4 separate regions of the Homo sapiens genome follow, and regions 1, 2 and 4 are each linked to region 3. Evidence: promoter capture Hi-C in human tissues and cell types (Jung and others, 2019). All regions are on one chromosome and are shown on one strand. Each heading gives the region's core, a stretch centred on a gene start or on the middle of the fragment in contact. The rest is flanking DNA. Distances are from core to core; before and after follow the strand shown. Region 1 overlaps RSF1 (remodeling and spacing factor 1). Region 2 overlaps INTS4 (integrator complex subunit 4). Region 3 holds the start of RSF1 (remodeling and spacing factor 1). Region 4 overlaps RSF1 (remodeling and spacing factor 1).

Region 1 (6,560 bases), core at 2,412-4,911, 85 kb after region 3:
ATCTTTGTGTCTTTAGTTTTCTGTCACTGTAACTTTACTATTTAGAAATATTCCACAAATTATATTAATTTGGAAGATATCGGGGTCCTATTAAATAGGGAAAACTCATAGCTATCTAACCGCTAGCTTATGAAAAACTTTCCTGACATTAACTCATATCTGTTTTTTGCCCCATTTTGAATTTCAGCAGATTTCTCTTAGTGATTATTTATTAATGCTTTGAAAAAATAACCCGTAGAAAAGCTCAATTTTCATTCCCTAAGAATAAATGTGTACTGATTAATCTCATGGGAGATTGTTTCATAAGCATGTATCATTACATTATTTTCCTTGTAATTAATTTGCTAAACGGAGGTGAACAAAGTAGTCCTAAACTAAAATTTATTTACCATTTCTCCTTTAAATACAAAGACAAATATGATCTATTCATGACATTATACCACTGTTTCTGTTATTTCCCATATTAACTTGGCGTAGTTGTTTAAAACATTCTTTTCTTCTTTGTAGATGAAGAAAATATGACAGTGAAATAACGATTACTATTGATCAGTCATAGTTGTTTAAAATAATGTCTAATGGGCTGGGTGCGGTGGTTCACACCTGTAATCTCAGCACTTTGGGAAGCCGAGGCGGGAGGATCACGAGGTCAGGAGTTTGAGACCAGCCTGGCTAGCATGGTGAAACCCCATCTCTACTAAAAATACAAAACATTAGCCGGGCATGGTGGTGCATGCCTGTACTCCCAGCTACTCGGGAGGCTGAGGCAGGAGAATTGCTTGAACCCGGGAGGCAGAGGTGTAATTTATGAGAGGAGTTCAAGATAAAAAGAACTGGAAGGCTGGGCACGGTGGGTCACGCCTGTAATCCCAGCACTTTGGGGGCTGAGGTGGGCAGATTATGCGGTCAGGAGATCAAGACCATCCTGGCCAACATGGTGAAACCCCATCTCTACTAAAATAAAAAAAAAAAATTAGCTGGGTTTGGTGGCACACACCTGTAATCCCAGCTACTCGGGAGGCTGTGGCTGGAGAATCGCTTGAACCAGCAGGTGGAGGTTGCAGTGAGCCAAGATCACGCCACTGTTCTCCAGCCTGGGCAACACAGCGAGGCTCCGTCTCCAAAAAAAAGAAAAAAAAATGTCTAATGTATACTGTTTTAAATAGATTATACCTTAATGCATGATGTGAAATTTTAGAGTTAACAGTTATGTTTGAATCTGGGTTCATCCACTTACCATCTGTAGACACATTACTTTTGTCCCTTGGTATCCATGGGGCACTGGTTCCAGACCCTCATGGATAACAAAATGTGTAAATGCTTAAGCCCTTTACATAATATTTGTGTATAACCTATGCACGTCCTCCCATATACTTATAATACTTAATGCATTGTAAATGCTAGGTATAGAATTGTTATACTGTAGTTTTAATTTGTATTTTTATTGTATTAACTTTAGTTCATTTTTTTCTAAATATTTTGATCTGTGGATATGGGGGGGCTAATGTACTTAATTTTTCTGAGAGTTACATTCCTGTACTTTAAAATGAAAGTGATAATACTTCCTCAAAAAGTTGTTGTGAGGAATATATGAGAAATGGTACTGACACTGTAATACATGCTCAATAAACCTTTTCTCTTTTTATTTCCACCTTTTTAACTATTCGCTTTTCTTTTGTTTTTTGTTTTTAGAGACGGAGTCTCACTCTGTCGCCCAGGCGGGAGTGCAGTGGCGCGATCTTGGCTCACTGCAAGCTCCGCCTTCCGGGTTCACGCCATTCTTCTGCCTCAGCCTCCCAAGTAGCTGGGACTACAGGCACCCGCCACCATACCTGGCTAATTTTTTGTAGTTTTAGTAGAGATGGGGTTTCTCTGTGATAGCCAAGATGGTCTTGATCTCCTGACCTCGTGATCTGCCCGCCTCAGCCTCCCAAAGTGCTGGGATTACAGGCGTGAGCCACCGTGCCTGGCCAGCTATTCGCTTTTCTTACAACCTTTCTAACTCCAAAGACTGAAATTTAGTTTATTCACTAAAGAAATATTTATCAGCAGAAAGGTCAGAAAATTCCCCTGGTGTTGCTTTCTGCTTTCACCTCTTCTCATGCTTGACCATTTCTCCATGTTTTGTTCCTTGGGCTTCTGCTCTTTTTAAACACACACACACACACACACACACACACACACACACACACACACACCCCCCAAAACACATAAAACTTCTTTCCATTTGTTAAAATTTGTTTTTGATAAACAAAATGGTGTATGTGGCAATTGTTCAGAAGGAAATGCTTGTGTAGATTAATGCCTGCACGCAGTTTTCCGTTTTTTTGTTGTTGTTGTTGTTGTTTTTTGGTTTTTTTTTTTTGAGACAGGATCTCGCTTTGTTGCCCAGGCTGCAGTGTGGAGTGCAGTGGTGCGATCTCAGCTCCCTGCAAATTCTGCCTCCCGGGTTCAAGCCGTTCTTCTGCCTCAGCCTCCTGAGTAGCTGGGATTACAGGTGTGAACCACCACACCTGGATAATTTTTGTACTTTTAGTAGAGACAGAGTTTTGCCATGTTGACCATGCTGGTATCGAACTCCCGAGCACAAGCTATTCACTTGCTGTGGCCTCCCAAAGTGCTGGGATTACAGGTGTGAACCACCATACCCATCGCATAGTTTTCTCATTTTCACAACCACAAATTTCTTTAGAAAATGGTGCCAGGTTATTTTTAGCCATTTTGATGACATCTGTGAATACATATGTTTCTATTTACAATGAGCCAGGGAACATTGCCCAAATAACGCAGAAATATTTGGGAGCATTCAGAAATCATTTGGTTTATTGACTCTCTGATTTTGTGTAATGAAATTCAATTTTTAAACAGCTGATTGTCATACTAACATTCCTTTATTTCATTAAATTTATAAATTCTATTACATACATCCTTGTGTAATAGGTACTATGCTAAACAATTGGTGATGTAATAGTGAATAGTATGGCTCTAAGATCTCTAAGAGGGGCTGCAGGCACCTGTGAAAGGCCTCAACTTGTAAAGAATAGATTTTAGGTGAATATTATATGCGTATTTTCTGGGGACGGATGGTAATTTATGTCAAATTTTCAGTTGGGTGTGTTTATGCATATTATAAGTGAGATGTTCTATGACATGACATTCCAATTAGCTTTAACCCAACACAGTGGAACTCTTACTGACAAATATAGTAAACTGTCTTGTCCACATAGGTCTCTCATTGTTGCAAAGGTTGAATGTAGAAAACATTGTAATAATTTTTGCCTCCTCATAAAGATAAGATCTTAGTTGTCACTAATATATATTTAGTGCCTAAAATAATGTGGGGCATCATCTCATTTGACTTGGATGAGATCATACCTGGAGCATGGTATTTCTGTTTGAATGGCAGACTCTGAAAGAAACATTAATATAGTAAAGTCCATTATGGGAACAACCACAAAGAAGATGATTGAATACTGAAAATGCTTTATCTAGCAGAAATTTACTCAGACATAAATGTCTTCAAACATTTAAAGGATTGATTTGTAGAAGAATATCTCAAAGGCTGAGCCAGGATCACTGGATTCAAATTATGGGGAAGCAGAACTGAATTTGACAGGAGCAAGAACGTTTGTTTTTCCTTTTACATTGCAGGGGAGTGATTGTCTTAAGACTGATAGATGTTGTCACACATTTTTCAATTAAACGTGCAAGTTTATGTGAAGTGGAGTTTTGTAAGAGGCAGTAATCTTTTTAGCAAGAGATTTCTTTAGAAAATCAAGTGATGGCCGGGTGCGGCGGCTCACACCTGTAATCCCAGCACTTTGGGAGGCCAAGGCGGGCGGATCATGAGGTCAAGATATCGAGACCATCCTGGCCAACATGGTGAAACTCCGTCTCTACTAAAAATACAAAAATTAGCTGGCATTGTGGCGTGTGCCTGTAGTCCCAGCTACTCGGAAGGCTGAGGCAGGGGAATCACTTGAACCCAGTAGGCAGAGGTTGCAGTGAGCCAAGATTGCGCCACTGCACTCCAGCCTGGCGACAACAGAGCGGCCTCCATCTCAAAAAAGAAGAAAAAAGAAAATTAAGTGATAAGGGAAGAACAAGTAAAGCAAATGAGATTTTGACTTTGACTTTTTCATTTAATAGGTTGCATTTAGGTGCTTTTCTTAGCTAGTAAGTATTATTTTTTACTAGTAAATTAAAAGCTTCTTGTTTTTTCTTAAAACAATTTCTTTAAAGTAACAGTATTATTTTCTTGGTGATCGGCTGGTGTTGGAAACGTGTTTCTACCTAATTCTTAAAAGAGGATTATATAACAAAAGTTATCTAGTCTTTAGGGTTCCGTTTTCTAAAGCTAATAAGTCAGCCTTCTTAATGATTGATAAATTTAGAAATATAACTGAACTTTGCAAATTAAACATCAAATGGAATTTTTAAAAAATGAGAATCCACCAAAAAGGGATAATTTTACATAGTTGATCTACTGAAAATTTCATACCATGACATCACCACAGTCTTAAAACTTGTACTGTTACGTAGCAACTTCCATTTCTGCAAGTTGCAAAATTAATAATATAAATATAGAGACGTTCTTTGCCGAGAGTCGTCGGGGTTTCCTGCTTCAACAGTGCTTGGACGGAACCCGGTGCTCGTCCCCCACCCCAGCCGGCCGCCCATAGCCAGCCCTCCCTCACCTCTTCACGGCACCCTCAGACCGCCCCAAGGCCCCTGCCGCCGCCCCAGCGCCACGCAGCCACTGCCACCGCCGCCACCTCTCCTTAGTCGCCGCCATGAGGACCACGTCCACCTCACAGGTGCGCCAGAACTACCACCAGGACTCAGAGGCCGCCATCAACCGCCAGATCAACCTAGAGCTCTGTGCCTCCTACGTTTACCTGTCCATGTCTTACTGCTTTGACCGTGATGATGTGGCTTTGAAGAACTTTGCCAAATACTTTCTTCACCAATCTCATGAGGAGAGGGAGCATGCTGAGAAACTGATGAAGCTGCAGAACCAACGAGGTGGCCGAATCTTCCTTCAGGATATCAAAAAACCAGACTGTGATGACTGGGAGAGCGGGCTGAATGTGATGGAGTGTGCATTACATTTGGAAAAAAATGTGAATCAGTCACTACTGGAACTGCACAAATTGGCCACTGACAAAAATGACCCCCATTTGTGTGACTTCATTGAGACACATTACCTGAATGAGCAGGTGAAAGCCATCAAAGAATTGGATGACCATGTGACCAACTTGCACAAGATGGGAGCACTCGAATCTGGCTTGGCAGAATATCTCTTTGACAAGCACACCCTGGGAGACAGTGATAATGAAAGCTAAGCCTCGGCTAATTTCCCCGTAGCCGTGGGGTGACTTCCCTGGTCACCAAGGCAGTGCATGCATGTTGGGGTTTCCTTTACCTTTTCTATAAGTTGTACCAAAACATCCACCTAAGTTCTTTGATTTGTGCCATTCCTTCAGATGAAGAAATTTGGTACCCCCCCCCAAAAAAAGTAATAATAATAATATAAATATATGTATTAGATGAATAGATAGGAAGCAATTAACTTATATATAATTATACTTTAAGTTGAAACAAGATTTAGTATGTGATTTACAAAACAATAGAAGTAGTTAAGTTTCATTAAACCATATGAAATTGTTAACATTTGAACATTTTGACCTATAAAAATGGTGATTTCATATGGCTCAATCAAGTATTATAACAGGTTTCAATAGCAAAAATGTTTAAGCTCCAGCCAGTGTCCTACTTATTCCAGTTAATGTTTAAAACAGAATTGCCACAAAAGCATTATTTCATCTTTAGGCCTCAATGAAAGAAGATAAAAGTACAGAAAAAAAAATTTTACATCTAATCAAATATGATGTAATAAGTGATTTTATTCACTCCATGGGGTATGTCAATAGAATTTGTTTAGGAATGAAAAAGATGGGCTCAGCATGATGGCTCACACCTATAACCTCAGCACTTTGGGAGGCCCAGGTGAGCAGTTTGCTTGAACCCAGCAGTTGGAGACCTGCCTAGGCAACTTGATGAAACCCTGTCTCTACAACAAATACAAAAATCAGCAAGGTGTGGTGGCACTTGCCTGTAGTCTCAGTGACTTGAGAGGCTGAGGTGGGAGGATTGCTTGAGCACAGGAGCTTGAGGCTGCAGTGAACTGTGATTGTACCACTGCACTCTAGCCTGGGCAACAGAGTGAGACCCTGTGTCTCAAAAAAAAAAAAAAAAAAAATCAAAGATGTAAACATAACAAGGTGGTAGTGTTTGGTTATTAATGATTAGAGAATTTTAGCAAATAAAGACCATAGACCAGATTCCATCACAAGCTTCTTCAGGATCTTAGTGGGACTACAGAAAGTACTTTTGTACCAAGTATACTAAGGAAGATAAAGTTATATGCAGACTATTAAGCAGTTACTTCATAAAGAATATATATATATATAGCCAGTATTCATATGAAAAAGTGCTTAGCATCATTATTCATTGTAGAATTTCCAATTAAAACCACAATGAGGTATTACCTTACTTCCATT
Region 2 (6,504 bases), core at 2,051-4,550, 85 kb before region 3:
CATAGTTGAGATCATACACCTTATTAACCATTCCATATTTTAATGGCTACAAAATATTTACTTGGGCCGGGGGCGGTGGCTCACGCCTGTAATCCCAGCACTATGAGAGGCCGAGGCAGGCAGATCACGAGGTCAGGAGCTTGAGACCAGCCTGGCCAACATGGTGAAACCCTGTCTCTACTAAAAATACAAAAATTAGCTGGGTGTGCTGGTGTGCGTCTGCAATCCCAGCTAGTCAGGAGGCTAAGGCAGGAGAATCGCTTGAACCCAGGAGACAGAGGTTGCAGTGAGTCGAGATCACGCCACTGTACTCCAGTCTGGGCAACAGAGCGAGACTCCACCTCAAAAAAAAAAAAAAAAGATGGATGCAGCAAACCATCATGACGCGTGTATACCTATGTAACAAACCTGCACGTTCTGCACATGTACCCCAGAACTTAAAGTATAATAAAAAAAAATTTACTTGATTGGATGCATCATAATTTACTCAATATTTTTTTCACCATTGAATAAGTAGCTACTGAGTTTTTACTATAATAGTCCACATAACAATGAATATTATGACCCATAAAGCATTTCATTTCTGTTGAATATTTCTCTTAGTATACTTTTCAGTGTAAAGCTATGAATCAAACATTTTACCATATATGTGCCTTTATAACAGTACGGTTTTGCTTTCCAAAAGGGTTACATCAGCTTAAACTACTATCACAGTGTGAGTGAACCAATTTTATTATAACCACTCCAGCATTCAGTGTCGTCATTTAAAAATGTATGACTGTTTACTAGGTATAAAATGATAAAATGCTTTTGACATGATCTTTATGTTGGTGGCATTATCCTTATCCTGTGTTTGCCTTGGGGGTTTTATTTACTATAGGGATCTGCAAAGACTTGGAGAACTTCAATCTGAATTGGCAGGAGTAGCTGATTTCTCTGCCACCTATCTTCGCTGTCAACTACTTCTCATCAAGGTTGGTTTGCATCCATTCCATTTATGATTGTGTTGCTAAAAATGCATCTTTGTGGATCCAGCAGTGTGTGAGGCCATAAGTTATAAAACTTATGGTCTTAATGCAACCACTTGACAATGGAGAAATATGTACTCTGCAGTGTGATTACATTTGTCTCTAATTAACGAAATATTAACTCATAGGAATTTGTAAATTTGGGGAGAATTCTTTTATCATAATATAATTAGAGCAGATTGGATAATCATTTTAGTTAGAATCCCAAGGTTGTAAATGTTTTGTATAATTTGATTAGCAAAGGAATTGTATGAAGTTTTAGACTATCTTCTTAAAATGCTCATTTGAAGGCCAGGTGCGGTGGCTCACACCTGTAATCTTAGCACTTTGGCAGGCCAAGGCAGGAGGATCGCTTGAGCTCAAGAGTTTGAGACCAGCCTGGGCAACATAGCGACACCTCATCTCTACAAGAAAATTTAAAGTAGGCAGGTGTGGTGGTGCATTCCTGTATATCCAGCTACTCGGCTGGAGTTGGGAGGACTGCTTGAGCCTAGGAGGTCAAGGCTGCAGTGAGATTGCACTCCAGCCTGGATGACAGACCAAGATCCTGTCTTTAAAGAAAACAAACAAACAAACAAACAAAAAAACTCACTGCACTTCATCAAAGTTAAAAGGTTGATTTCATTGCTTTTAAAAAGACCAGCTTGCTGGCGTTTCTTACTCAGTAGTCAGCTATACACAGAATTGGTACCCAAGAATCTATTTAGTTTTGCTGAGTTAAAAAACAATTAAATGAGTTCAGTATCTTTCAGCTTCTGTAGCAGAATTTTACTATAAATTTTGGCACAGAATTTAGGAGAGCCCTTCTCACTTGACGAACTTTTATCTTGGCCCTAGTTCAAAGTGTTCTTTGTTTTCAAAGTGATTAATGATGTTTGGCTAAAGTCAGAGTAAATCAGGGAGTCAAAAGTTATTTTCTACTGTGTGAACTTGTGCTAAATGTTATATTTACAGTTGTGCAGGTGTGCCTATACATGTAAAGGTGCGTATGTATACTTGGCACTTAAATGGTCCTTGTTAGGCTAGATATGTTCTTTCTAATGTATATATCTGTGTAATCACCACCATAGGCAAGTCGTAGAACATTTTCATCACTCCAAGAAGTTCCTTCCTGCCCCTTTGCAAGGTTGTTTGGCTTTTCCAAGCCTCTGTGAAACCCCAGGAATTCAAGGAGGCCATGGAGAAGAATCCACTTTTCTATAGTAGCAAAATATGGGTGAGGAAAGAGAAGTGATTACTCCTAAAAAGAACACATAATTGTTGGTTATTCAATGACAAGGGGTGACAGTGTAGGTGAGGGGCCCAGAGCCAGAACCCAAGGCAAGTGTGTTTAATAACAGGAAAAAAGCTAAATAAATTTTGGTACAGCTACCTAGCAGTATATTCTGTAGTCAGTAATTCTTTATGAAGAATTATACAACAACATGACAAAATATTTAGGGTGTAATGTTATGTACCCAAAAGAAGGGGAGCCAATCATAATCCCAAAAGATAGTCCAGAACATCATAGTCCTAAACTGTTTAAATTCCAAAAGACTAAAATCCCTAAGGTCTAAAATCCCAAAAACCACAGCCCAGAAAATATCAAAATCCCCAAAATATAATTATGGAAGAAATAATTTAAAAAATTTAAAGATATTTATTTTTTAAAGGGGAATTTATTTGAGAAACATAAAAACACAACAGAATACTTTATACATCACTTAATATAATAAAACAGACAATAACAACATACATTTTTGCAAGCATAAACACTCAGGTTACTAATGACAGTTGGGTGGGTCTAACAGTTATGAGCAGATGAGCCATATTTATAAAGAAATTGGTCATAAAGGGAAAGGTATAAATGCATATCACTTTGGTTGTTAATTGTGTATACCCAGCTTTTTAACTGTGGTCATCTGAAATACTGTGCCCAACAACCTCAAGTCTTTTGACGAGATTGATGGAAACTGTGCTGGGTCACCACTGCATATGCAGTCACCCAAAGAGCTGAGATCTCAAGAAATTTTATCTTTCACAAATGCAGATGTACGAAAAGGATATCTCATTTATCGAGGAAGTTTCAACATTTTGTGTACACACTCAATGCTTATACACAAAGTCAGTATTGTGATGATGCACTTTCATGGAGTCAGATTTCTGATATCCAAGCAGCAGAACCCAGAGAGTCCGTTTTGCTATATTGCCTTTTTTTTTTTTTTGAGACAGAGTCTCAGCTTATCATCCAGGCTGAATACAGTGGCGTGATCTCGGCTCACTGCTGCAACCTCTGCCTCTTGGGTTCAAGCAATTCTCCTGTCTCAGTCTCCCAAGTAGCTGGGATTACAGGTGTGCACCACCACGCCTGGCTAATTTTTGTATTTTTAGTAGAGACAGGGTTTTGCCATGTTGGTCAGGCTGGTCTCCATCTCCTGACCTCAGGTCATCCACCCACCTCGGCCTTCCAAAGTGCTAGGATTACAGGCATGAGCCACCACTCCCAGCCCATTTCGTCTTAAGTATTTGTTCTCTCCTGGCCACTGGCTGATTGGATGGTGCCCGCCAACATTGAGGGCAGATAGTCTCCACTTAGTACACTCAGATTTATACACTAATCTCTTCTGGAAACACTCTCATAGACACACCCTCAATGTGTAAAACAAAATAATCTTTTACCAGGTTTCTGATATTCCTTAATCTAGTCAAGCTGATATCTAAAATTAGGTCCACAAGTCCACCCCTTGTCAGCTTGGCACTCATACGCATCTCCTTAAGCCATATTTAATTTCCAAATAAAGACAATAACATGGTAATAGTTGTGCCTAACATGATACAACTAACATGATGCAACTATCCTGCATACAACCCAAAACACGCTAATCACTTCCCCAGAATTTGGATGTGAGGATTTCAACATTTGGGATTGTATGTTTTGGGATTATGATCTAATCCCCAAACTTAATTCTGCTTTCTGACTACAACTGTCAAAAAACATGCATACAAGAAATGATTAGAAGTAAATATTCCAGAAATTCCTATAGTTTTTATCTACAGTTTAGACCTACCACTGTTTAATTTGATAGCCACCAGATACATGGGACTCTTGAGCACTCAAAAAGTTGTTAGTCCAAACTGAGATGTGTTATTAAGTGCAAAATACACACTGGATTTCTCAGACTTAGTATGAAGAGAAAATGTAAACTAATTAATAATTTAAAAAATACTGCATGGTGAAATGTTAATATCTTGGATATACTGGGTTAAATAAACTTTTTTAAAAAATTAACTTAGTCTTTGTATCTTAAAATTAACTTACATCTTTGTAATTTAAAAACCGTGGCTACGAGAATATTTAAAATTATATATAGCTCATGTTATATTTCTATTGGACAGTGTTAGTCTAGGTTTTCTGTAATGTCATTTGATTACATCTGTAATTCAGAAGGACTGAGAAAATAAGAGGCTGTCACAGAAGTTTGTGCAAGGGATGAGGTCATGTGGATGGATAGGTGAGGAGAGAGATGGAAGGTAAAATCATGGCTCTTAGTGGTGGTTTTGAATGTAGAAAGATTGAAAGAGGGAGAAATCTAGGAAAGCTGCTTGATTTCTAGTTGAATATGTTGATAAAGTGGTTGGGGCTTACAACATAATGAGCATAGGGGAAAAGAAAAAAGAACCACAGTTAAGGAAGAAGTATCTAGGTGGCTTGGGTTAGTCCAGTAGCTCTGGGAACAAGGAGTGCCTAGAGCCCGGAAGCTGGCTTGCCTGCGCATTCTGGTGAAGCTTTCGTGGTTCCTGTCCTCTGCTTCCAGAAGCACTGATCTGGGACACAGAGCCTTTGGGCCAAGAATTGGATCAAATGGGTGGGAATTCATTTAGCCCAAACCATTGGTCTCATCTTTCTCCATAATAGATACAGCTTATTGGGTTAAAAGAATAAGATCAATTGAGAAGTCATGTTCATGGGAGACTTTCAAAGGAAAACAAAAATGTAAATCCCAAATGATAGGCCAGTCTTTGTGACCTCGGTATTCTGTTCCCTCCTGATTTGTCTGCGTAGGCCTTGCAGGAAAAGTTGTGGAATGTAGCTGCCCCTTTGTATTTGAAGCAGAGTGATTTGGCCTCAGCAGCAGCGAAACAGGTAAGCTTATTCAGACCTTCCCTTCAAATAGGTCTCTGTCCAGTAATTGTCTGGTCCAAGACAGAGCCAGAGGCCTTCCTATAGCTCTGTCTGTGTAGGCCTTGCAGGAAAAGTTGTGGCATGTAGCTGCCCCTTTGTATTTGAAGCAGAGTGATTTGGCCTCAGCAGCAGCAACACAGGTAAGCTTATTCAGACCTTCCCTTCAAATAGGTCTCTGTCCAGGAATTGTCTGGTCCAAGGCGGAGCCAGAGGCCTTCCTGTAGCTCTATACCTCTGCTGTGGCCTCCCTAATTTCAGGCTATGACAGAAGTTAGTGATATGAGAAGGAGCATAACTAGGAGACACAGCACTCACTTTGGACTCAGGGGACCTGGGTCCTAGTCCCAGGTCTTCCTCTGATTTGCTGAGTGATATTGAGCAAGTTACTTAAATTCCCTGGATTTTTTCTCTTCTATAAAATGTGGCAGTTGGGCCGGGCGCGGTGGCTCACACCTGTAATCCCAGCACTTTGGGAGGCTGAGATGGGCACATCACTTAAGGTTAGGAGTTTGAGACCGGCCTGGCCAACATGGTGAAACGCTGTCTCTACTATCATGAATCTTTCATCTGAAAATGTAGCCCAACTCAGTTAAGGTTGTTTATATCTTTAGCCTGTACCATCTCTTCAACGTTAAAAGGTCCTGGGTAGTTCATTAAGTAGGCTTTAATTTTATTTGTCTCTAGTTTATTTCTTTTTAGCTTTGAGTCATTCCCCTTTGCACCTGAGTATTGAGACTTGGTGATCTCTTGCAGGTCAAGTCTTCCAGATAGGGAGTCTGTAAATGACCCAGGAGGAAGCTAATGATGGTGACTGTTATTGTTACATTACAGTTCACTAAATGATTTCAAGTCTATTAGCTTAATTAACCCTCATAATAATCCCATTAGATAGGAATAAGTATTAAGTCTGTTTTAGAGATGAGGCAGTTAAGGCTCAGCAAGGTTAAATTCATAGAGCTATAGGTAATACAGTCAGGACTTGAGACCAGATCCTCTGATACCCAGAATCTGTTTTCTACTACAGTGCTGAACTCTTGTCTGATCCAGACTCTTTCTCAGACCTGGTATGTGGCTTATTGTAGAAGAGTAGAATTTAATGACTAGAACCCGATAATTGAGCCACATTGGAAGGATGGGACCAGGGAGCAATAATTTGGAAGGAAAAGAGGAAAGGAATTACCATTGCTGTATACCAGATACTGTGATAAACACATTGCATGCTCCATTTGATACTTGAAACTTCATGATATTGGTACTGTTTCTTCCCTGTTTACAGAAAGGGATTGAGACACTCATGTAATTTAACTTGTCTTA
Region 3 (6,019 bases), core at 3,106-5,605:
ACCAGGAGTCGGAGCATGCAGTGAGCTGAGATCGCGTCACTGCACTCTAGCCTGGGTGATAGAGTGAGACTCTGTCTCAAAAAGAAAAACAACAACAACAAAAAAACTATGTAACAAATGCAAAGATAACATATGAAGGAGACAGAAATGTGTATAAATTTGTATAAAAGGCAGACTGGTACCAATGCTAATTGGGATTATATAGGAATAAACCATTAACTTCTAAAATTGAAGCATAATTGCATTGCATTTAGTTGAATGCAGTGTTTATAGAGTTCAATGAATTTTGAGAAATAAACTTGCCAATCAAGATATAGAAACTATCTACAAAGTCCCCTTGTGCCCCTTTCTAGTCAATACCCTTCCAAGCTCAAAGGAAACAACTACTTTGATTTCTATTGCCACAGATTAGTTTTGACCTTCATATTGATGGAATTGTACAGTACCTAACTCTTTTGTGTCTGCCTTCTTTTACTCAACATGTTTTTAAGATTCACCCAGGCTGTAGTGTATATCAACAGTGTGTATTACTCTGAGTAGTATATCACAATTTATATTTTTCTGTTGATGAATATTTGTGTTGTTTTTGACTTTTTGGTATTTTTAATAAATTAGCCGTTAATTCTAATTGAGCAAAATATTTCCCCCTAATAGGACATGAAATTTGAAATATCTTAAGAAATTTCTTATTCATAAACAAAGTTGAACCAAGTGTAACTTAATGCTTATTTAAAGGCCTCTTCATGGCAGTAGCAATAAATCAAATACAGGTTTTAAAAATAGCTACTCTTTTTTGCACCTTTACATTCCAGTCTGATAAATATAACTCACTTATATAACTACATAAATTGTCGTTAAGCTCTGTATTCCACAATTTCTCTTAGCCCAGGAAAGCAAGAAGTGATGATAGCATTATGGGTGTGTGTCATTTATTTTCAAGAACAGACTTTAGTGAAGGAAGGCATGCTTAAACCTTGCTTTGTAGCAAAACACTTCTTATCTTTGGGTGGATATAACTTTCTGATGCCAAAGGACTCTGTTTCCCTGCCGATCTAGATTAGAAAAGGCAGAAACTCTAACCTTTATTTATCAGTCTGTTTGACTAACAGTGTGAGCAGTGAGAAAAGAAAACTATAGTAATAAAGCTTTTTTTTTTTTTTAGAATGTTATTTCACAACCTCACTGGAATGTGGGAAGTGAAGTGCTGCAAAAGCTAGAAGCAAAGATAGAAAGTACAGGCAAGGTTCACATAATAAATCTTCCTTTTAGGTTTGAAGGTTCTTTCCATAGAAATTCCTTCACAAAGATACAATTTTATTTTAAAATATCCTGTACCTGGCTTTTATTTAAGGTCAGTTAAGTAACCAGTATATGAAAGTCTTTGTATGTTTCCACAAAACTGTTGTTAAAACTGTATTCTGGGTCAAATTATTCTTTTTTTTTTTTTTTTTTTTTGAGACAGGGTGTAGTTCTGTCGCCCAGGCTGGAGTGCAGTGGCAACTACATGGGATTACAGATGAGGTCTCACTACCTTGCCCAGGCTGGTCTCGAACTCCTTGGCTCAAGGGGTCCTCCTGCTCGGCCTCCCAGAGTGCTTGGATTACAGGCATGAGCCACCCCACCTCGCCCAGATTATTTTTAAACTGGAGTCTTCAGGTCCCCAGGGTCAAGAGATATACACTTGCCCGTTTGGGAATTCTATAAAAATGTTTTAGTTTAGTTTTGTGTTTCATTTCAGTAATTGCTTAAAAACAATATTTTCCGACTTATTAAATTAAAACTTCTTTGGCAGTGATAATTCATAACCATAAAGATATTTTCCTGAAGTAGGATTTTAATTTCTTTTTTTTTTTTTTTTTTTTGAGACGGAGTCTTGCTCTGTCGCCCAGGCTGGAGTGCAGTGGCACAACCTTGGCTCACTGCAAGCTCCGCCTCCCGGGTCCATGCCATTCTCCTGCCTCAGCCTCCCGAGTAGCTGTCTACAGGGGCCCGCCGCCACCACGCCCGGCTAATTTTTTGTATTTTTAGTAGAGACGGGTTTCACCGCGTTAGCCAGGATGGTCTTGATCTCCTGACCTCGTGACCCGCCCGTCTCGACCTCCCAAAGTGCTGGGATTACAGGCGTGAGCCACAGCGCCCGGCGGATTTTAATTTCTTAAAAGCTTTTTTATTGTCGTAAAATACATGTAACATAAAATATGCCATTTTAACCACTTTAAGTGTATACTTCAGTGGCATTAAGTACATTTACAGTGTTCTTTAGACTTTGATTTCTTACATCAGTATTTCTTACAGTGAAATTTTCAAAAGTATTTGCCAAGTTTCAAAAGAACTTTTTTCCTTTAAAAACGGTTTGTATACCACTCAAGACTATGAATCACTATTCAAGGCAATAAATTCTTCTTACAATATAGAATTTTTCTCTTGATAAATTGAGTATTCTTTCTTTAGATAATGGGAATAATACACACCCTTATGGTTTTTCCCCTTTTTAAAACCTGGAAATGAAGAAAAAAATTCGGTGTTTGTGTGACCATTTTCCCTGTTACTCATATAATTATTTGCCCATCTATTTCTTATCTTTCTATAATTACAGATTTCTCTTTTTTACATGGTTTGTGTTGTACCTTGCTTCAAATTCTTTTTTTTTTTTTTTTTTTTTGAGGTGGAGTCTTGCTCTGTCGCTCAGGCTGGAGTGCAGTGGCGCGACCTCGACTCACTGCAACCTTCGCCTCCCCGGTTCAAGGGGTTCTCCTGCATCAGCCTCCCAAGGATTCCCGGCTAATTTTCGTTATTTTTACTAGAGACGGGGTTTCACCATGTTGCCCAGGCTGGTCTGGAACTGCAGAGCTCAGGTGATGCACCCACCTCGGTTTCCCAAAGTGTTGGGATTACAGGCATGAGCCACCGCGCCCGGCCAAATTCTTTTTAGGAATTAGGTACTACATTGAGTTTTAAATGCACTCAGAAAATTCTCAAAGTAATAAATTATAGACTAAATAAATATAGCGGAATTCAGTCTAAATTATAGGAACTCCTTTTTTGATAACTAATATTTTTAAAGTACTCACTATGTGCTACGGCACTGTGCTAATCACTTTACTGTGATTTATCTAGTAATACCGTATGATGTAGGTACTATTATCACCCCACTCTAAGGAGTTCAAAGAAATAAAGAAACCTCCACAGTGTCATGAAGTAGCCCCGCTAGGACTCAGGCCTGGCTGAATCCAAAGCTCAGGCTTCTAAGCATAACGTGTACTGCTGCTTCTCAGGCTGCACATTCTATTTTACATTATTGGTAGTTTCTCTCTGGCGTTCTTTGTGGGAATGTTCACTGCCCCCGCCCCGCCCCGAAGTGGAACCCTGTCTTCTAACAAACTTTTCGCTGCTCCACCGTCTCCTGTCATGTTCCGCCTCTCAATGGAGTCCCAGCCCACACTCCGATTCTGGTCCCTGAACAGAGCCCCTTCCCCTCACACCATGGCCCCCTAGCAGAGCCTGGTCTCCTCAGATCCTCTTCTCCCAGCAGGGCCCCAACTCCTCACTCCGACGATTCCCCCAGAGTTCCGTTCCCTCAGATCCTGCTTTTCCAGCAAAGCTGCGATTCCTGTACCCCAGCAGAGAGCAATACCCCGTCGGCAAACTTCCACAGAGACATCTTACCGAGGTCCCAGCCCAGCCCCTAATTAAGGGCACACCTCTACCTTTCCCCTTCCCAACCTTCTCCCACAACTGTGCTTTCCCCCGCCCTATTCCCTTTTTCTGTTTATTAATTCTCCTCAACCTCTCCACCATCTCGTGGCCCAGTTTCAGGATTCCCCCGCAAACTCACCCACCGCACTGTCTCCTCAAAGTTGCGTTCCCAAACGGCGCAGTGCTCTGCCCGCACTTACGCTCCCAGCGCTGCTTCGGGATCTGCGCTCCCCAACTGCCCTCCGGGAATACGCCCTGCAGTTGAACAGCGCCCGAGGCCCCGCCCCCTCTGCGTCCATTGGCCATTGTTCTCGAGAAGTCCCGCCCCTCCCGCTTCCAGCCCGCCTCCCCGCCCCGCTTCCCTTGTTTTCATTCCCCCTGTCACACGAGGCAGTGGCAAGCCCGAAGGGGAGGAGAGAAGGGGGCGGAAAGAGGGCGGAAAGTGAAAGGCGCCGAGGGCCGCTCTGTCTCCCGTCTGACTCGGTTCTCGACTGCTCCGGGCCGCCGATGTATTGTGGGATCGCGGAGCCGTCCCTGAGACGCTGGGATCCGCAGAGGAGCCCACTTGAGAGCGCCTCCTGTCGTCTGTAAGGTTGCCTTGCCATCCCTCGGCACCACAACTTCCCCCGCCCCCCCATCGCCTCCTCCTCCATCCTCCAGTTCAAAATGGCGACGGCGGCGGCAGCGGCGGCGGTGATGGCTCCTCCGGGCTGCCCGGGTTCGTGCCCCAACTTCGCCGTAGTCTGCTCCTTCTTGGAGCGCTACGGGCCGCTGCTAGACCTGCCTGAGTTGCCGTTCCCTGAGCTGGAGCGGGTGCTGCAGGCGCCGCCGCCGGACGTCGGCAACGGAGAAGGTAAGCGAGGGGCCCGAACGCCCGGCGGGAAGCGGCCCTGGCGCTCTGCTACTCTCCGCTCTTCACAGGCGCCCCGGTTCTTCGCGGCTCGGGCCTCCGCGGCTCTGTCTTCCCCCTGGGACGCAACTCCGCCGGGCTGGTCTTCTCCGCCCAGCCCCCGGGGTCTTGGGCAGTGGGGAGGCGGGGCGGAGGCCCCCTAGGGCCACTCGGCCGGGCGGGGAGCTGAGGTGGAGGCGTTGCGGGCTAGGTGTGGGCTGGAGGCGGGGAGGGGTCATTGTGCCGGTCGGCAGCCCCGGGGACTGCTTCTCCGCGGCGGAGGGCGGCCCCCCACCCCGTCTCCCCCTTGGCGGCGGGGGAAGGGGAGCGCAGGTTCCGGCCAGCTTTGCGCTTTTCTCCTCCTCCCCACCCTTACTCCCTCCCCTCCTCCCACCAGTCTTCCCGACCATCTCGGGGAAGGCTGGGCTCGGCTGCTCCGGACACCTCCTTATCTCCCTTCACCTGGGTGGGCGGGGGCCAGCGGACACTCAACTCTCCCTCCCTCTGTTGGGAACTCCCCTGAGAGATTTGTCCCTTTTCCCTTCCCCTCGAGGGCTGCTTTAACCCCTAAAACTCCTTCCTTGAAGTGGGGAGGTCTGCTCCTCCCCCACGGGAGGGGGTTCTTCTCCATTCTCGGTAGGGGGGCGAAGTCGGTTCAGCTCCACTGTGGAGAGGAGAGGGTTAATTCCTCCTCCATAGTTCTCCTTCCTCTCCCCACCTCCCCCAAAATAATAGGCGAGCATCTCCCCACTTTTCCAATCCCTTCCCCCTTCATCTTGGCAGCCGGGCTTAGGCGAAGAAGTCGTCTCCCTCCCATTTGCACGGTAGGGTGGGGTGGTTAGTATGTAAGCTGGAGGAGGGGCTCTGACGGAGGGGGAAACAGTTGAAGAAGGTGCTTGTTGCTCATGTTTCTCTCTCTGGTGCCGCTGGTCTATTATTGGTGTTCGCAAGTGGTGCTCCTTCCACATAAGGCCACCGCGCGGGTGCAGGGCGCATGCTCTGCCCGGCCCCATTGAAACTTCCTGCTGCTGCTGCTGGTTCTTTTGCTGGAGCATCTCAGCGCTGCGCCTGCTGCCTCCAGCCTTCACACTGAGTGCTTATACTCACCCCCATTTATTCCCGATCCCTGCCTCTCCTTTTCTGGCACTTTTCTTTCCTCAGAGAAGGCTTTTTTGTTATACTCTGAGCATTGCCTTTATCTGGAAACAGCCCTTGGCTGGAGAAGAAACGTTTTCCAAATAGGTCTCTTTTTTTGTCCATATTAGCTGGCCAAAGTGGATTGGTTATTGTACAAGACAGATAGCTGTTTCCTTTCCAAGAAAGCAGGGTCGCTCTTCTATTCTCTATGTAAATGAAGAAGTTTCTGTTAACTGAATTTATTTGCATTGCTAGGAAGCGCCAAGTATGAAGTTCTTCAGAATATTACCTATAAAG
Region 4 (6,716 bases), core at 3,229-5,728, 100 kb after region 3:
GGCCTTATAGTAGATAATGGGGGATTTCAACAATAACAACAGCTAACATTTATTGGGCACATCCTGTTTTCTTTGCAGTCTACCAAATGCTGCATATGGATTTTCATTTAATCCTCATAGCAACTCTTTGAGGTAACTACTATTATTATTTTAATTTTACAGATGAGGAAATTGGAACATTTATAATGTTGCCTCAGGTCATATACATAATTAAGTGTCAGAGTCTAGATTTGAAGCCTGATCCTTCTATACCCTATGCTCTTAAAGTGGTCTAGAGTAGTACTTCTCAAACTTTAATATGCTGGGTGTTCACTTCGGGAGTTTTTTAAAGTACAGAATCTGGTGGAGTGGGTCTTGGCTGTCTGCTGATTGGCTATTTTAACAAGGACCTATGTAATGCTGATACTGCTGGTTAGAGGACCATATTTTGAGTAATAAGGTCATCTCCTAACTTCTGAAACAAATACACCAAAGGCCGTTATACACCTGTTTCTGAAAACATTTCTCAATGAATGCTGATGTTATACCTCTCAACACAACTAAGAGAAAATGGTCTGTGAGGGATGGCATCCTTGAAAAAGTAGAAGAGGAGGAGCAGGACATTTCATTCTCTTTGTTTTTCTGTCTTCTATTTTTATTTTAGAGACAGTCTCACTCTGTCACCCGGGCTGGAGTGCAGTAGTGCAATCATAGTATGCTGCAATCTGGAACTCCTGGGCTCAAGTGATCCTCCTGCCTCAGCCTCCTGAGTGGCTGGGACTACAGGTGTGCGCCACCATGCCTGGCTAATGTTTTTTAATTTTTAATTTTGTAAAGACATGGTCTCACTTTGTTGCCCAGGCTGGTCTCGAACTCCTGACTTCAAGCAATCCTCTTGCCTCAGCCCTCCGAAGTTCTGGGATTACAGATGTGAGCAACTGCGCACAGCCTACCTTCTCTTTTGCTTTTCTGCTTCTCTTTCTCTAACAACAAAATGTTTCTTATTCATTCATTCATTCATTCAGTGAATACTTACTGTGCACCTTCTCTGTGCTAAGCATGATTTTAGGCATATAGTTTAATAAAGAAGGACTAAAATCCTTGCTTTTGTAAAGCTTACACTATAGTAGATAAAACAGTAACACATAAACCATTTACCATGTGCCAATACTGTTCTAAATGCTTTTGCCTATATTGTCAGATCATTTTCACAACAAACCCTGTTTAGTAGTGTAATATTATTACTTCCCTTTTTTCAGATGAGGGAAATTAGATAAAGAGTGATTTCGGTAATTTTCCCAAGGTCACATAGCTTGTTAATGGCAGACCTAATATTCAAAACTAGGCAATCTGTCTCCAGAGTCCCTGTGCCCTTTTAATGCTGCACTTACATATAATTTCAGCCCCCAAAAACCCTGTCTCTCACCCTTGTCCTCTCAGATGTAGTTCTTGTAGTCTATTCCATGGCAAGACCAAATAAATATGATTCTGTTCTGTCATTTTTATTCCTTTCGGATGTAAACAAACATTACCCTTGGGCTGTGTTGGGGGATCAGGGCCAGGTGGGAAGGAGTATGTCAAAAGCTGGAAACAGTCCTGGGGAATGTCTAACATAGAGTGTTGAAGCAAAATGTGACAAAAGTTAAAAATTAAGCATGGTTAGATATTTGCAAATTGGGCAGCAAGAAATAAAAATAAATAGGCACTGGAGAGGGAATAACAACCACTCTTATTCTTGTAGCTAAAATAGATTTTTCTTTAGTCATTAGTTAAATTGCCATGCCTTGTATCTTAACTCAGTAAGATAAGTTTTTATTTTTGTATAGGTGTTAAGGAGAAACGTATTAACTGTAAAAGTGGGCAAAAAAATGGAAAATGGCAATAAGTGGCCTAGAAAATGGTGACACCAACTAAATAATTAAGTTGACTTTGTTTCAAAGACAATTCGAATTGCCTTCTGAAAGTCTAAATTTGCTAGACTAACATTCAGAATCTCAGTCTGGTCTCTCTTTCTAGCAATAGCTCCTGCTTTTTCTTACATGAGTACTGGTTCCAGATCATCTAGATGCTTTTGTTTTCTCCATATGTCTTGGGCATTCCCTTCTGTGTCTGCATGCTGTTTCTCTCCCTCAGATGTTGTCTCCCCAACTCCCATGAAAGTCTGATTATACTTCAAGGAACATCTGAAACTTTATTTATACTATTTGTATCCCACTTATATTAGGGCTAGTCGTGGCATCAGGCTTGAAACGCTCAAATACTTTTTGAGTTGTTATTCTCAGACTGTGGTAGATTTCCAAGTAAGTGTTTGGTGTCATTTATACCCTTTTATGGGAGTTTAAGATCCATTGTCTTAATTTAGGTGATAATACTACCTGGAAGGTATCGTGCATATAAAACACCATGGAATTTAATATATATTTTCTCTCTACATTGGATACTGTATTCTAATTTAGAAGGGACCAAAAAGTTAAAAAGAAACTTTTCTGGGGAAAAAGCTGAGGGAAGCCCAACTAACATTTAGTTTTTAATTCTACTAATTGAAAGAAGACTGTCCTTTTTTAAATTTTTACAGTCATGCACTTCTGCCTACAGGTGATCAGATAAGATATCACTTGAGAATTTCATATAAAGAACAGAATTTACAGACTGGCAGCTCACAGACCTAATTTGGCCCAAAAACGTGTTTATTTTGGTTTCTACAGTGCTGCTTTGTTTTTAAAAAGCTAAGATAAAATTCACCATTTTAGTGATTTTAGTATATTCACAGCATTGTGCAACCATAACCACTAATTCTAGAACATTTCTAGCACCCCACAAAGAAACTCTGTACCCACTTAGAAGTTACTTGCCATTTCTCCCTACCCTCATCCCCTGTAAACCATTAATCTACTTTGTCTTTATGGATTTGTCTCTTTGTAGCATTTCATAAAAATAGAATCATACAGCATGTGGCCATCTGTGTCTGACATTTTCATCTAGCGTAATTTTTTTAACATTACACTAACATAATGTTAAAAACATATGCTAAATATTACAACATCCATGTTGTAGCATGTATCAGTACTTCATTCCTTTTTACACATGAATAATATTTATTTGTATTGATATACCACATTTTATTTATCTGTTCACTTGATGGACATTTGGATTTTTCCACCTTTTGGTATAGATAATGCAGCGGTGAATGTTAATATACAAATTTTTGAGGGAACATATGTTTTCATATGACTGATTTTTTAAATGAAGTTGCTGTCGACATCTAAAATTGAAAATTAGAAAAGTTGTCAACTTTGGATCATCATTTTTATATGTCAAAAATACTCTGTAGCTGAGTAATGGTTGTTTCTATTTACGTGAGATTTACACTCCATTTTGCCATACTCCTTTCTTTTGTCCTCTAAAATCGGGCTTAGTCTCAGGTGCTTGGACTTATATTTTTTTCTTACAGTGTAGTTAACATGAAAATAAGATATTTATTGTATTCATGTCTTTATCAATTTTGGAATAACAAAGACCAAGAATTATTTCAGAAAAAGGAGAGAGTTGCTAATTGTTGAAGTGAAGTATGTCAGTATAGTTGGTTTTTGTATTTATTTATTTTTAGAGTCAAGGTCTTGCTCTTACTCCCCAGGCTGGAATCTAGTGCCACAATCACAACTCACTGTAACCTCCATTTCCTGGGCTCAAGGGATCCTCCTGCCTCGCTGGGACTACAGGCACATGCTACCATGCCTGGCTACTTTTTTAATTTTTTGTAGAGACAGGGTCTCACTATGTTGCCCCATCTGGTCTCAAACTCCTGGCCTCAGGCAATCCTCCCCCCCATCTCCCAACATGTTAAGATTATAGGCGTGAGCCACTGCACCCAGCCCAGTATAGTTATAGTAGGTAGATTAACTTACTGATGATTTTCCTTTGATCATTATTAATGTGATGTCAGATATAAAGCTTAAGTTCTATGTGGCAAAATAATATAACTTAACGTAGTCTATTAGTCTGTTCAGGCTATTCATAACAAAATACCACAGACTGGATGGCTTAAAACAACAGAAACTTATTTTCTCAGTTCTGGAGTTAAAAGTAGCAAATTTGATTTCTGATGAGGGCTCTTTTCCTGGCTTGCAAATGACTCTCTTCTCTGTGTGTGTGGAGAAAAAGCTATCTGTTTTCTGTTCCTCTGATCTTATAAGAGCACCATTCCTGTAATGTTAAAGTCCCCCACTCTTGTGAGAATTCTTTAACCATAATTACCTCACCAAAGGCTCTGTCTCTAAATACAGTCGCATTGGGGATTAGGGCTTCAATATATGAATTTGTGGGGGACACAATTCAGTCTGTAACATGTAATACTATGAAACTATCCATTGTAAAAACTATGATGGTTAACGTAAAAGGTACCTGAGGAAGAAATTGGGAGGGGGAGGACTGATATTTTAAGGAGATTCATTTTTGAATGCTGAGATGTGCAGCTATATATTCTTAAGAGAAAACTATTACGTGTATCAAAACTGTTTTTTTTTCTTTTTTTTCTGAGACGGAGTTTTACTCTTATTGCCCAGGCTGGAGCACAATGGCGCGATCTAGGCTCACCGCAACCTCCACCTCTTGGGTTCAACCGATTCTCCTGCCTCAGCCTCCCGAGTAGTTGAGATTACAGGCGTGTGCCACCAGGCCCAGCTAATTTTGTATTTTTAGTAGAGACGGGGTTTCTCCATGTTGGTCAGACTGGTCTTGCACTCCCGACCTCAGGTGATCTGCCCACGTTGGCCTCCCAAAGTGCTGGGATTACAGGTGTGAGCCACCATGCCCGGCCAAAACTTTCTTTTCATTTTGAGTTTGAGTGCAGCAAAAAAGTGTATCAAACTAGAATGAGCATTTGCATATGTAAGGACAATTGGAAATACTCTTGCTCGTAGTGAATAGATTACTGGTAATAAGTGAGACAAGATGTTAAATTATTTTTTATATTTTCTATTGTACCTGATGAAAGCACAGATATTTATGATGTTACTCATAATGATTTCTTTGTAACTTTGATGAGAATTTTAATATGACTGGAGATAAAAGAACTTACTTCCCTGTATCGTTATCTAGGGACTTTTTTGTATTAAAAAAATTAAAAGTGGAACATGGCATTGTCATGGTAAACTTGTGAATTGGATAAGCTCCCATACATGAGTCAATGTGTTCATTAATAAATGAGCTACACAACACAGTATTTTTCCATACATTGCAGTTTTATATCTTTAGTCCCTGTCGGGATCCTTCTTAGGTTTCAGTATTCAGATTCGCAAAACTACTACAGACAACACTTGGCATCAGTATACGGAGATCGATCTAGGACAGGGATCATAGCTTGCCAACAGGAGCAACATCTAGCCTTAGGAATAGTCTTTGCAACAGTTCTTATGGCCATCCAGAAGCTGTTTTCTCCCAGGTGACAACTGGAGAAACAAGCAGATGGGATTTATGTTGAGAGGGTCCAGGAACCACTCAAAAGCCTCATGTTCCATGGAAGCCAATATCTCTTCTATCAACTCTGTGGACCAAAGTTCCAGGATTCTCACTGTATTCAGGAGGCCCCAAGGGTGACACCCTTATCCTGTATTTATATTATTTTTTTATTCTAGATTGCAAGGTGTTTTTTTTTTTTTTTGGTTTTTGGTTTTTGTTTTTTTTTTGCCCATGCTGGGGTACAGTGGTGCGATCTTGGCTCACTGCAACCCCCACCTCCTGGGCTCAAGTGATCCTTCCGCCTCAGACCCCCAAGTAGCTGGGCCTACAGGCACAAGCCACCATGCCTAGCTCATTTTTGCCTTTTCTGTAGAGATAGGGTTTCACTGTGTTGCCCAGGCTGGTCTTGAACTCCTGAGCTCAAGTGATCCACCCGTCTCGGCCTCCCAAAGTGCAAGGATTATAGGCATGAGCCAGCATGCCTGGCTGGGTTTAAATTTTTTAATTGACAAAGAAAAGTTGTATATATTTATGGTGAAATGTCTAAAACTAATTCCATATTGTGGAATGTCTAAAACTAATTACCATATGCATTGACTCACAGACTTATCTTTTTTGTGATGAGAGCACTTAAAGTCTCCTGTCCTAGCAATTTTCAGGTATACAGTACGTTGTTGTAACTGTAGTCACCATGTTGTACAGTAGTAGATCTCTTGAACTTACTCTTCGTAACTGAAAGTTTTTATCTTTTGACCAGCATCTCCCCACACCTTCAGTCCCTCATAACCACTATTCTACTCTGCTTCTGTGAGTTCAACTCTAAGATTCCACATGTAAGTGAGATCATGGGGTATTTGTTTCTGTTCCTGACTTATTTCACTTAGCATAGTATCTTCCAGGTTTATCCATGTTGTCACAAATGACAGGATTTCTTTCGTTGTTAATGTTGAATAATATTCCATCATGTATATAGATCATATTTTCTTTATCCTTCTATCTGTTAATGGACACTTAGGTTGATTCCATATCTTGCCTATTGTGATTAATGCTGGAGGGAACATGGGAGTGCAGATATCTTGTTAACAAACTGGTTTCATTTTCTTTGGATATACCCCGTAGTGGGATTACTGAATCCTATAGTACTTAATATTTTTAATTTTTTGAGGAACGTCCATACTGTTTCCTATATGGCTGTACTACTTCACATTCTCAACAACAGTGTACAGGGATTCTCTTTCTTTTTTTTTTTCCTCATTTTTGCCTACACCTGTTGTCTTGTC

The links. The method cuts DNA at HindIII sites, captures the fragments that hold promoters and counts their contacts. A contact is called where the count stands out against the background at its distance.
Region 1: a contact is called between a fragment that was not itself captured here and the fragment with the promoter of RSF1 in region 3, in 2 of the 25 tissues and cell types used here (lymphoblastoid cells and mesenchymal stem cells).
Region 2: a fragment that was not itself captured here is called in contact with the fragment with the promoter of RSF1 in region 3 in 3 of the 25 tissues and cell types used here (mesenchymal stem cells, pancreas and thymus).
Region 4: a fragment that was not itself captured here is called in contact with the fragment with the promoter of RSF1 in region 3 in 2 of the 25 tissues and cell types used here (adrenal gland and lymphoblastoid cells).

What each region holds. Positions count from the first base shown.
Region 1 is chr11:77,733,257-77,739,816 of GRCh38, reverse strand. The region is part of intron 4 of RSF1 (remodeling and spacing factor 1); the gene reads left to right. RSF1-IT1 (RSF1 intronic transcript 1) reads left to right here and starts at 108. Exons shown (of 2, transcript NR_046822.1): 1 at 108-629; 2 at 887-1,648. It also overlaps the pseudogene FTH1P16. The HindIII fragment of the contact is 7,107 bases long and covers 108-6,560 here.
Region 2 is chr11:77,902,187-77,908,690 of GRCh38, reverse strand. INTS4 (integrator complex subunit 4) reads left to right here. Exons shown (of 23, transcript NM_033547.4): 16 at 881-974; 17 at 5,071-5,151. It also overlaps a transcript of AAMDC not described here. Among named protein-coding and RNA genes, the nearest start is that of AAMDC, 84 kb to the right of the region's middle. The HindIII fragment of the contact is 8,265 bases long and covers 1-6,504 here.
Region 3 is chr11:77,819,058-77,825,076 of GRCh38, reverse strand. RSF1 (remodeling and spacing factor 1) reads left to right here and starts at 4,355. Exons shown (of 16, transcript NM_016578.4): 1 at 4,355-4,549. The coding sequence starts at 4,363. It overlaps AAMDC (adipogenesis associated Mth938 domain containing), which reads right to left and starts at 3,933. Exons shown (of 4, transcript NM_024684.4): 1 at 3,836-3,933. RefSeq lists silencers at 3,896-4,055, 4,646-4,735, 4,876-4,965 and enhancers at 4,156-4,295, 4,306-4,475, 4,028-5,000, 5,596-5,705, 5,001-5,974. The HindIII fragment of the contact is 12,017 bases long and covers 1,655-6,019 here.
Region 4 is chr11:77,716,104-77,722,819 of GRCh38, reverse strand. All of the region lies in intron 5 of RSF1 (remodeling and spacing factor 1), which reads left to right. Among named protein-coding and RNA genes, the nearest start is that of RSF1-IT1, 20 kb to the left of the region's middle. The HindIII fragment of the contact is 3,932 bases long and covers 2,513-6,444 here.